Regions from separate parts of the Homo sapiens genome. Here region 2 is linked to region 1. The links are contacts of gene promoters, found by promoter capture Hi-C in blood cells and fetal thymus (Javierre and others, 2016). All regions are on one chromosome and are shown on one strand. The core of a region is centred on a gene start or on the middle of the fragment in contact, and the rest is flanking DNA. Distances in the headings are between cores, read along the strand shown.

Region 1 (4,921 bases), core at 2,034-4,533:
TCAGTTGCCCTGAGCATCAACAGTTCTGTCCCTGTTGGGGCATTCTCAACCACAGACACATCATACCCTTCTGGCTGGCTAAATACTGGCTTTTCATCATTCACATCTAGGAGAGTTACTACAAGCTGGGCATAGGACACCTTGGGGTGAACTCCCTGGTCCCGGGCACTTATATTCAGAACAATCTGGGAAGCAAGTTCACGGTCCAGGCCCCCAGAGGACCCAGTGGTCACGAGGCCGCTATGTTCACTGATATGGAACCATCCCAGTCCATTGCCAGAGACAATGCTGTAACGCAGATTAGCATTGAGACCAGAGTCGCCATCAGTGGCAGATATCCCACTCACATAGCTTCCCGGAGGCGCCTCCTCGCTCAGGTTCACTCTGTACACTTGCTGTGAAAAGACAGGAGGATGGTCATTGATGTCATTAACAAAAATCACCAGGCTTGCCACAGAAGAGCGCGCCTGGACTGCTGCGCCAGGGGGCGCCCCGTAGTTATCAGAGACGGAAACTGTGAGGTTGTAGGAAGGGATGCGCTCGCGGTCCAAGGCGCTGGCCACCTTGATTAGGCTCAGGTTCGGCACTTTGCTGCTTTGCACTTCAAAGTGGCGCTGCTCATTGCCCCCGAGAATTTGCACGGAGATGTTCCCGTTGGCCGCGGGAGAATCTGCGTCCGTCACGGTGAGCAGAGCCACCACGGTGCCCACTTGAGCATTCTCATCTACCGAGGCGTAGCGCGAGGTGGCCGGGAAGTAGCGGAACTTCACTACCGGGTCATTGTCATTCACGTCCAGCAGCTGAATCAGCGCCTCGGCGCGCCCAGTGAGGGAAGGCACGCCTCTGTCCATCGCCTGCACCGTAAGCGAGTATTGGCGCCGAGCTTCGAAGTCCAGGGGCTCCCGCACCGTGATAAGTCCCGTCTCAGGGTCCATTTGGAAGGGGGTCCCCTCGTCCTGCAGGCGATAGCGGATGTCCGCGTTGGTGCCCTCGTCCGCGTCCGCCGCCGCCACCTGGAGGACGCTGGAACCCACAACCGCGTCCTCAGGCACCCCCGCCTGGTAGTGAGAACTGCCAAAAACCGGGGGGTTGTCATTAATGTCTTGCACAGTCACGTTTACCTGAAGGTAGCCCCGCCGCTTAGGCTCACCCTTGTCCTCCACCTCAACCAGGAGCTGGTACTGCGGAGTGACCTCACGGTCCAGTCCGCCCTTGGACACCAGATGCAGGAACGCTCCCTCGCCGCTCGGGTTCAGGGTGATGTCCAGACGGAAGCGCCCCGCCTCATTGCCGCGGATGATGCGGTAGGAGCGGTGGTCCACACCGTTTGAGCCGATGTCCGAGTCGGTGGCGGTGTCTAAGATGACTTGGCGTCCGCTGCTACTGTCTTCCTTGAAAGTGACCACGATAGAGGGGTCCGGGAAAACGGGGGCGTTGTCATTGAGGTCCCGCACCAGCACTCGCACTTCGGTGGGGTAGGTGGGCGCGCTGGAAAGGACCACCAGGTTGATCACGTCGCTGGGCAGGCTCTCGCGGTCGATGGTGGAGGTGGTGTACAGGGCTCCGGTGCTACTGTTTATGGCAAACAGGGCGTGGCTTTCGCTGAGCCTGTAGGTGAAGCCGGGGCGCGTCTGGATGGTGCCTACCAGAGTGCCTGGAGGTTGCTCTTCCAGCACTTGGAACACCTGGCGCGGCTCGGCCCCGTGGACCCAGGCCTGCCCCGGAAGCAATGACAGTAGCCAAAACACTCGAAGGAGCTGAGATACTGATAGAGTGTGCAACGGGAGCCACGGGCGGCCAGTAGCCCTGTCTGGTGCTAAGTCCATGGTCCTGGCTCCCTAAAACGATGTGATAAAGAGAAGGAAGGGGTGAAGCAAACGCAATGATATTTACAGGGATTAAGGAGCGCCAGCAAAGATTCAGCTGACGGCTTGGTCTGAGACCTCTGCTATTTCAAAGAACCTCCAGTCCGGCAAAAGCAAGTAGCATCAGCAAAAGACTCTAGGTAGCCAGTTGAACGCGGAGTGCAAGAGAGATGCTGTGGCGAAAAGCGGCAGGGCATTCCGCGGGACACTCCTGTGAGCTGAGTTCCCAGAAAAGTTTCTCAAGCCTCTTATATATGCCCCCTTTTACTTTGTTTTTGAATCCAGATAGTCTGAGCGTTTTCACCCGGGTGGATGAGAGTTGGGAGAAGTTGCCTGTATCTAAGGTATATGAGGAATCATTGCAAAGAACGGTCTTCAGAAACTTTAGAACTTACCCGCAGCGAAGAACGTGAAGAGGGAGGAACAAACGTCCAAGCACAACTGCGCACCGGGGAAGGGGTGGTGGGGAACCGGGAGAATCGAATTTCTTTCCCAAAAGCTGGAGGCGATGGAATTCCTGGAGTCCCCACTCCTCAAAAACCAGGCTGCAACGCCCCTCCAACAGGGCGCCGGCAGTGGCCGCTGAGGCCCAGGCGGCGGCGTCTGCGCGCAGGCAGTTCGGGAACTGCGTTCCAAGCGCTAGCGTTCGCGCTCTGGCTCCCGTACCCGGGAGCGCTCAACTCTGCCCCTTCCCCTCCTGCAGCCGCCGCCGCCGCCGCCCCTGTTGCGGCTTCAAGCCCGTGGTCCGGCACAAACAACAGCCAGGGCTCCTCGGCATTTTTCACCTCTGCCGGGGCGCCTGCCGACCCATTATTTGTACATCCAAATCGAACGCAGTTTCCCCTTTCTTCTCGGCCTCGCAGGGGTCGGGCAGAAACAGCGTGCGGTCCCCGAGTCGCCCTCCCCTCACCATGCCAGGGGGGGTCGTTCTCCGGCGGCCCCAGTCAGAAGCCCACTCTAGCGCGCCTCGCCCCTGCCCTCGCTATCTCTGCTTTTATTGTCCCGTGTCAGTTTCACTTTGTAATCCACAAGGCTTTTTGTTTGGGGCGGGGGGTGGTTGATGCCTCTCTCTCCTTCACAGTTGGCAGCGGAGGCGGCGAAGTCGGCGCTGGGCTGTAGTGACGCCCTCCGCAGCTCCGGACGGCGCCTGTCAGCGCTCTCCCTCTCGCCGGCCGGGGCCGAAGGTTGGACTGCGGTGGAGCTAGGGCTCCGCGAGCCCTTCTCCACCTCCCGCCTGGTCCCTCACACTCTCCCCGCCCCTTCCCCGCCGCACAGGCATGCACACACACACACATACACACGCACACACACACACACAGCGCGTCGCCGAAACACAAACAGAGGGGGAGGGAAGACCGCGAGCTGGAGCAGCACTCAGAAACTTTGCTCGACACTCATTGATCCCCGCACTTTAGTTCGCCTGGACTCCCCCTAGCTCCCAGTCCTGTCACCTTCTGCCCCTCCCTCGCCCCAGCCCCATTGGGCCGGAGCTGAAGCAGCCCCGACCGGCACTCCTACCGCGAGCGCCCTCCGCCTTGCCCGGCCTCCGACTGGCTTCTCGGGATGCTAATCACTTCAGCCTCCCGGAGGGCTGTAGGCGGTCTGGTGTGGGAGCACAGCGAGGCGGAGGCGCTAAAAAGGGGGGTGATTTTTTTTCTTTTCTTTTTTTTTTTTTTTTTTCCTTTTCGGCCAAATCTTGGCCGGCGTCAGAGCAATAACAGCAAAAGGCTGCCGCAGAATAGATGGGGGTGGGGTCAGGTTTGCAGATAAATAACTTTAGTGGCAGGGTCTGGGGGAAGACCGTTAGGTTGTTATGCTAGTAATAACTCAGGGGTAAGGGGGTCGAGAGAAATAAAAGAAAGGCGGGGGGTGAGGGTCTGTTAAAGCGGGGAGGAAGGATTAAGCAAAGCCTGTCTGGGAATGCACAGTGCAGATTTGCTTTAACCATTTCCTGCCCCTTCTCTCTTTATGCAAGGGATAGAGCTGCCATACAGTGTGATCCCACAGAATCCAAATCAAATCCTCCCCTTTGCTCCTCTTTCTACACAGTGGGCTCCCTGCTGTCTAGGGCGAGCTAAACTCTAAATCTTCACTCACTTGCCCCTCTCCCCCACCTTCCAGGTGACTAGGGGGCAGGAGGCCTCCGTAGCAAGGGCACTTTGGACTTCCTACTATAGGAAAGGCCAGGGGAACTCAGTGTTTGTTTTGTTTTCTTTCCCAACTGGATTCCAGGTGCCAGTAGCCCAAACCTTAGGGTTTCAACAACAATAATAATGGCAGCCCTTTGAAAAGAGGGAGATCTTTTCCTGTTGCAAAGTTAGTTTGGAATTTTGATCCCTGATGGAGTATTTCCACCTCCACATTTTTTAGTCAAAGGAAACCTAATAAAGTTTTATTTTGCTTTTCAGTCTGGGAGAAATAGATACGAGAAAGTAGAAATAAATAAAATAATATTTAAGCTTAAGTTTTTAAAAATACCCACATGCCACTTAATGCACTCAGATCAACTCACCCACTATTCACTGCAGTTAATTTTTGTGGTGGCATGCATCGTTTCTTTAAAAGAAGAAAAACGTTACTAGGAATCAGATCGATATTTTTCCCCTTTAAGGGAACCAACCTAGAAAATAAGAATTCAAGCCAAACAATGCAAATACAGGGCATATGTCATACATTTCTGCCACAAGGATCCCTCACAAACGTAAAACTTTCTGCGCCCAGAGAGGGTTCAGTCATGAGTAAATACTGCCCTCTGCTGTTCTACGTCAGTCTTACATCTTTAGTCTCCTGGTTTCTTGCTTAAAATTAAATGCAGAGACTAAAAGGATCGGATTACAAGGCTAATTCCTGCTTCTTGCCTAGGGATAGCAGCAAAGAAAACGATCTCTAAGACTTTCCTAGTGCCTTTCTTATTTAGAGTAAAAAAAAAAAAATCAAGAATAGTAGGACAGACAGCAAATTCAAGTCTTGATGATGCAGGCAGCCTGTAACTCAAAACTGATTTATGGAAACATGATTTCTAAAGCTATCACCAATTCCTCTGTTTAGGTTAAAAA
Region 2 (4,964 bases), core at 850-3,349, 390 kb before region 1:
TTCAATTAGAGATTGTTTAATTGACATGTTGAGTCAACACTGATTTTCTTCTCACAGATTTTAGCTACAAAATTAATAGTGTCTGAAAATGTTGTGTTTTACAATGTGTGTGAAAACTGTATGAGCCATATCCCTCCAGAGCTGCTGTAATCATGCAGACTGAATATTAAGTTTACCCTCCTCAGAGATTTTTTTGTTTCAGTGCATGTCCTACCTACTCTTAAATACCAAAATAGTTGCATGTATCTTTGTTTTGGGTGTGTGTATGTTTTGCATTGTTCTTCAATTTATGTTTTAGGGTAAAAATAAATGTGATTAAGCAAAGCATATAGACATCGACATTCAAAAGCACTCTTAAAAGAAAAACTTCAGACAAATTAAATGTAACACAGTTTATTTGAGCAAAGAACAATTCATGAATGGACAGCATTCAGAACCAGAGGAGGTCCAGAAAGTTCTGCTTCACAAAGTGAGCAGGGAGCTTTTATAGACCAATAAAGGAAACAAAGTAATTACCTGATTGGCTACAGCTAGGCATTTTGGTGAGCTGTGATGAAGCATTTGCCTATTTGGTTACATCTGATGAATGATCAGACCAAGAGCTGGTTGGCTGTTTGTGAATGGCTGAGGCACATTTTTTTCTTAAGTCAGTTACAAAAAATGTTTCCAAGTTAAGTTTCTGTTTTCTTAGAAAAGAACTCCTGGTACAGATAACAACCCCAGGCTAATGGCCTCTTGATTATTTTGCTTGAACAGTATTCTGAGACCTATAACTCAATAATAAAAAGCAATATATAGATTCTTTTGTGAAAATGAGAATGCAGATCTCATGATCTGGAAAACTATACACTGTACACTTGGCCTAGTTTCACTGATGAGCCTTGCTCCACCGGATTAGACTTAAAAGCAATTCAGTAAAGTATACTGCATACATCTAGTTAGTAAAAACTAAACTATTATTTGATTTTAAGAAGATAAAATTAATCTTCATTGTGCGCAGCATATACAATGCTAATTAATAACTGCTCAGATGCTTCCATTCCAAATACATTATGCCATAAGGAATATTTCAATACTGTGTGTTTTACCAACTCAAGCCCTCTCCAACAATGTGCTAACACAAACAATTGAATAATGAAATATTCTGCATCAGCTAGATATTCCTACACAAAAAGTCGTTCCAAAATTTAGTGGACTAAAAATAAATGTGTTTTTGCTCACGAGTCTACAAGTCAATTGAGTAGTTGTTCCAGTCTAGAGTTCCCTCATCACCTGTGATTATCTGTGAATCACCTTGGCAGCTCTGCTTCTAGAAGCTTGCTTGATGTTCATGATGGTGCTTTAGTTCTCCCCCATGCCAAGTTTGGGTTTGTTCATCTGGTAACTGAGCAGGATTTAAGAGAAGCAAGTTCTTTTGAAAGTATAACTCACTTTAAAACTTCATTGGCTTGCTCTGATGAATCAGACTCAAGTCCATTCTAACAACCAAATCCACCATTATTTGGGAAACATGTGTCTCTTTCTTACTCACAGATTCTTTGTCTATGTCAAGCTGTTACGGGACAAGAACCTGAAGTTTCTTAGAAACCCTTTAATGTAGCTGAAAGCAAAACCTGGGCACATTTGATTAGATCTTGTCCTCAGAACTTTTTTGTTAGAACTCTTATTGTTTGAGAAGATGGAAGATGAGAAATAATTTTATTTATTTATATTCCTTTAAATTCTCCTTGAAAACTAGCAAGTTCTTTGTCTAGCTCAAAGTTTTCAAGCTAAGCCTGCAGGACAAATTCAGCTTACTACCTGTTTAACTATGGGCTGTGAACTGTTACTGTTTTCTACATTTTTAATGATTTAAAAATCAAAAGAAGGATAATATTTTGTAGTGCATGCAAATTATTTTATATTCAAATGCTAATGTCCATAAATATTTTTTTGAAACACAGCTACACTTATTTATTTACATGTTGGCCCTGGCTGTTTCTGCATTTAGGACAGGAAATTTCAATAGTTGAGAAAGAGACAGTAAAGTCACAAAGCAAAAAATATTTACTATATGGTCTGCATATAGCAGCTGCATTTACTATATGCAGCATTTACCATATGCAGCTAAAAGAAGTAAACATCTACTTTCAACTTTTTGTCTGAAAATCATTTTGCCAAAGTCCAAAAGTTTATTAGAAACATGTATATTGGTATAGTCGTGCCTATTGTTTGTTATTTTGTAACATGAGGCTCTATTTTCCCAGACTCTAATTGCAAGCTCTCACCGTTTCTCCAGTTTCTACTAAATATTTGCTCACCATGTTTCCCATTGCCTGCTTGCTGCTTCACTCTCAAACCAGAGTCTCACATTTTAGGTCAGTGGCACTCTAGTTCTATGCATCAATTCCTATATTAGTTACCTCTTTCAGTATAAGAAATAAACACAAAACTCTGTGGCCTAAATAAATAAGCATTTATTATTGCTCCTAAGTCTGTGGGTCACCTGGATAATACCACTTCTCCTGCCTATGCTTGCTCATGTGCCTGAAATTAACTTATAGATTGGGTGAAGGGTAGATGGGATGGTCTAGAATGACCTCTTTCACATATCTCTTAGTTGGCTGGCTGTTGGCTGGGATGGCAGGAATGGCTGAGTAATGGGCCTCTCTTCCTCAAGCAGGTGACCCTGTGCTTATTTACATGTTGGTGGTAGCATTCCAAAAAAAAAAATGAGTTGGAAGCATGCAAGTTTTCTTGATAGACCGGGAACTATAACTCCATAGCTTCTCTCACAGTATTTTAATGAAGGCAACCCAGATCAGACTTAAAGAGTGAATAAATAATTCCTTTCTCTTGATAAGATAATCATAAAATGTATAATAAAATTTTAAGAAGCTTTTGGGGCGGGCGGATCACCTGAGGTCGGGAGTTCAAGACCAGCCTGACCAACATGGAGAAATCCTGTCTCTACTAAAAATACAAAAAAATTAGCCAGGCATGGTGGCGTATGCCTGTAATCTCAGCTACTCTGGAGGCTGAGGCAAGAGAATCGCTTGAACCCGGGAGGTGGAGGTTGCGGTGAGCCAAGATCACGTCATTGCACTCCAGCCTGGGCAACAAGAGCAAAATTCGGTCTCAAAAAAAAAAAAAAACAAAGAAGCTTTTGGTATACAGACTATACAGGTGTACAAAGCATACAACCAGACAATTATTTGCTAATGGTCTTCAAATCTGAATATATTATGGACAAAAGAATTTTAAAAATCTTTTACAGTCCTAACAATTTAATAATGATAAATTGATGATGAAATACCCACAGTGGGTGATTAGCACTGGTGAAGATTATACTTTAGATAGAGAATTAGGGAAAGGACATGCCAAATAACCAAGGAAATATAAATCCAGGTAAATCAAAGGTCATCCTTTTTTAGTATAAGTTTGGGAGGAAGGTGTCTTTTTTAATCTTTTCCTAAGTGATCCACCTAAAAGCTCTTCCTCTATATTTTGGGATCCTCCTCTCTGCCCTTAGTTCTGCTTTGGGATGCTCCTTATTTTATTACTAGTTACTTCTTGAATGCCTTTTTTTTTTTTTTTTTGCACTTGCCCTTTTTAGGACTTTATTATCTTTTGCATGGAGTCAATGGAATAAGAAATACTAGGTCATACAATTTTACTATGTTGTTTTGTATTTTTAGTTTTCTTTTGTTTTTTGGTTGGTTGATTTTTGTTTTAACTTTTATTTTAGGTTTGGGGATACATGTGCAGGTTTCTTATATAGGTAAACTCATGTCATAGGGGTTCATTTTACAGATTAATTCATCACCCAGGTACTAAGCCTAGTACCCAATAGTTATTTTTTCTGCTCCTATCCCTTTTCCCACCCTCCACCCTCAAGTAGCCCTCAGTGTCTCTTGTTCCTTTCTTTTTATTCATAGGTTCTCATCATTTAGCTTCCACTTATAAGTGAGACTATACGGTGTTTCATTTTCTGTTCTGAGTTAGTTTGCTAAGGATAATAGCCTCCAGCTCCATCCATGTTCCCACAAAAGACATTATCTCATTCTTTTCAATGGCTGTATAGTATTCCATGGTATATATGTACCATATTTTCTTTATACAGTGTGTTATTAATGGTCATTTAGGTTGATTCCATGTCTTTTCTATTATGAATAGTGCTGCAGTGAGCATTTGCATACATGTGTCTTTATGATAGAATTATTTATATTCCTCTGCATAGACACCCAGTAATGGGATTGCTGGGTTAAATGGTAGCTCTTTGAGGAATGGCCATACTGCTTTCCACAACGGTTGAATTAATTTACACTCTCACCAACAGTGTACAAATGTTCCCTGTTCTCCACAACCTCACCAGCATCTGTTGTTTTTTGACATTTTAAGAATAGCCATTATGACTGCTGTGAGATATCTCATTGTGGTTTTGATTTGCATTTCTCTAATGATCAGTGATGTTGAACTTTTTTCATATGATTTTTGGCCACTGCAACCTCTGTCTTCCCAGGTCCAACTGATTCTCATGCCTCAGCCTCACAAGTAGCTGGGACTACAGGTGTGCACCACCATGCTCGCTAATTTTTGTATTCTTGTAGAGATGGGGTTTCATCATGTTGGCCAAGCTGGTCTCGAACTCCTGACCTCAAGCAATCTTCCCACCTCAGCCTCAAGATTGCTGGGATTACAGGCATGAGCCACTGTGCCCAGTCCTTTGCCCACTTTTTAATGGGGTTGTTTTTCTCTTGCAAATTTGTTTACGTTCCTTATAGATGCTGGATATTAGATCTTTGTCAGATGCATAGTTTGCAGATACTTTCTCCCATTCTGTACGTTGTCTGTTTACTCTGTTGATAGTTTCTTTTGCTGTGCAGAAGCTCTTAAGTTTAATTAGATCCCATTTGTCAATTTTTGTTTTTATTGTGATTGCTTTTGTGTCTTTGTCATGAAATCTTTGCCCGTTTCTATGTCCA

The links. The method cuts DNA at HindIII sites, captures the fragments that hold promoters and counts their contacts. A CHiCAGO score of 5 or more calls a contact.
Region 2: a fragment that was not itself captured here is called in contact with the fragment with the promoter of FAT4 in region 1 in 2 of 17 cell types (megakaryocytes and endothelial precursors); the score reaches 5.1 in megakaryocytes.

The regions. Positions count from the first base shown.
Region 1 is chr4:125,313,317-125,318,237 of GRCh38, reverse strand. It overlaps FAT4 (FAT atypical cadherin 4), which reads right to left and starts at 3,283. Exons shown (of 18, transcript NM_001291303.3): 1 at 2,261-3,283; 2 at 1-1,838. The coding sequence starts at 1,826. The HindIII fragment of the contact is 5,556 bases long and covers 1-4,326 here.
Region 2 is chr4:125,698,235-125,703,198 of GRCh38, reverse strand. No RefSeq gene overlaps it. Among named protein-coding and RNA genes, the nearest start is that of MIR2054, 190 kb to the right of the region's middle. The HindIII fragment of the contact is 1,561 bases long and covers 1,319-2,879 here.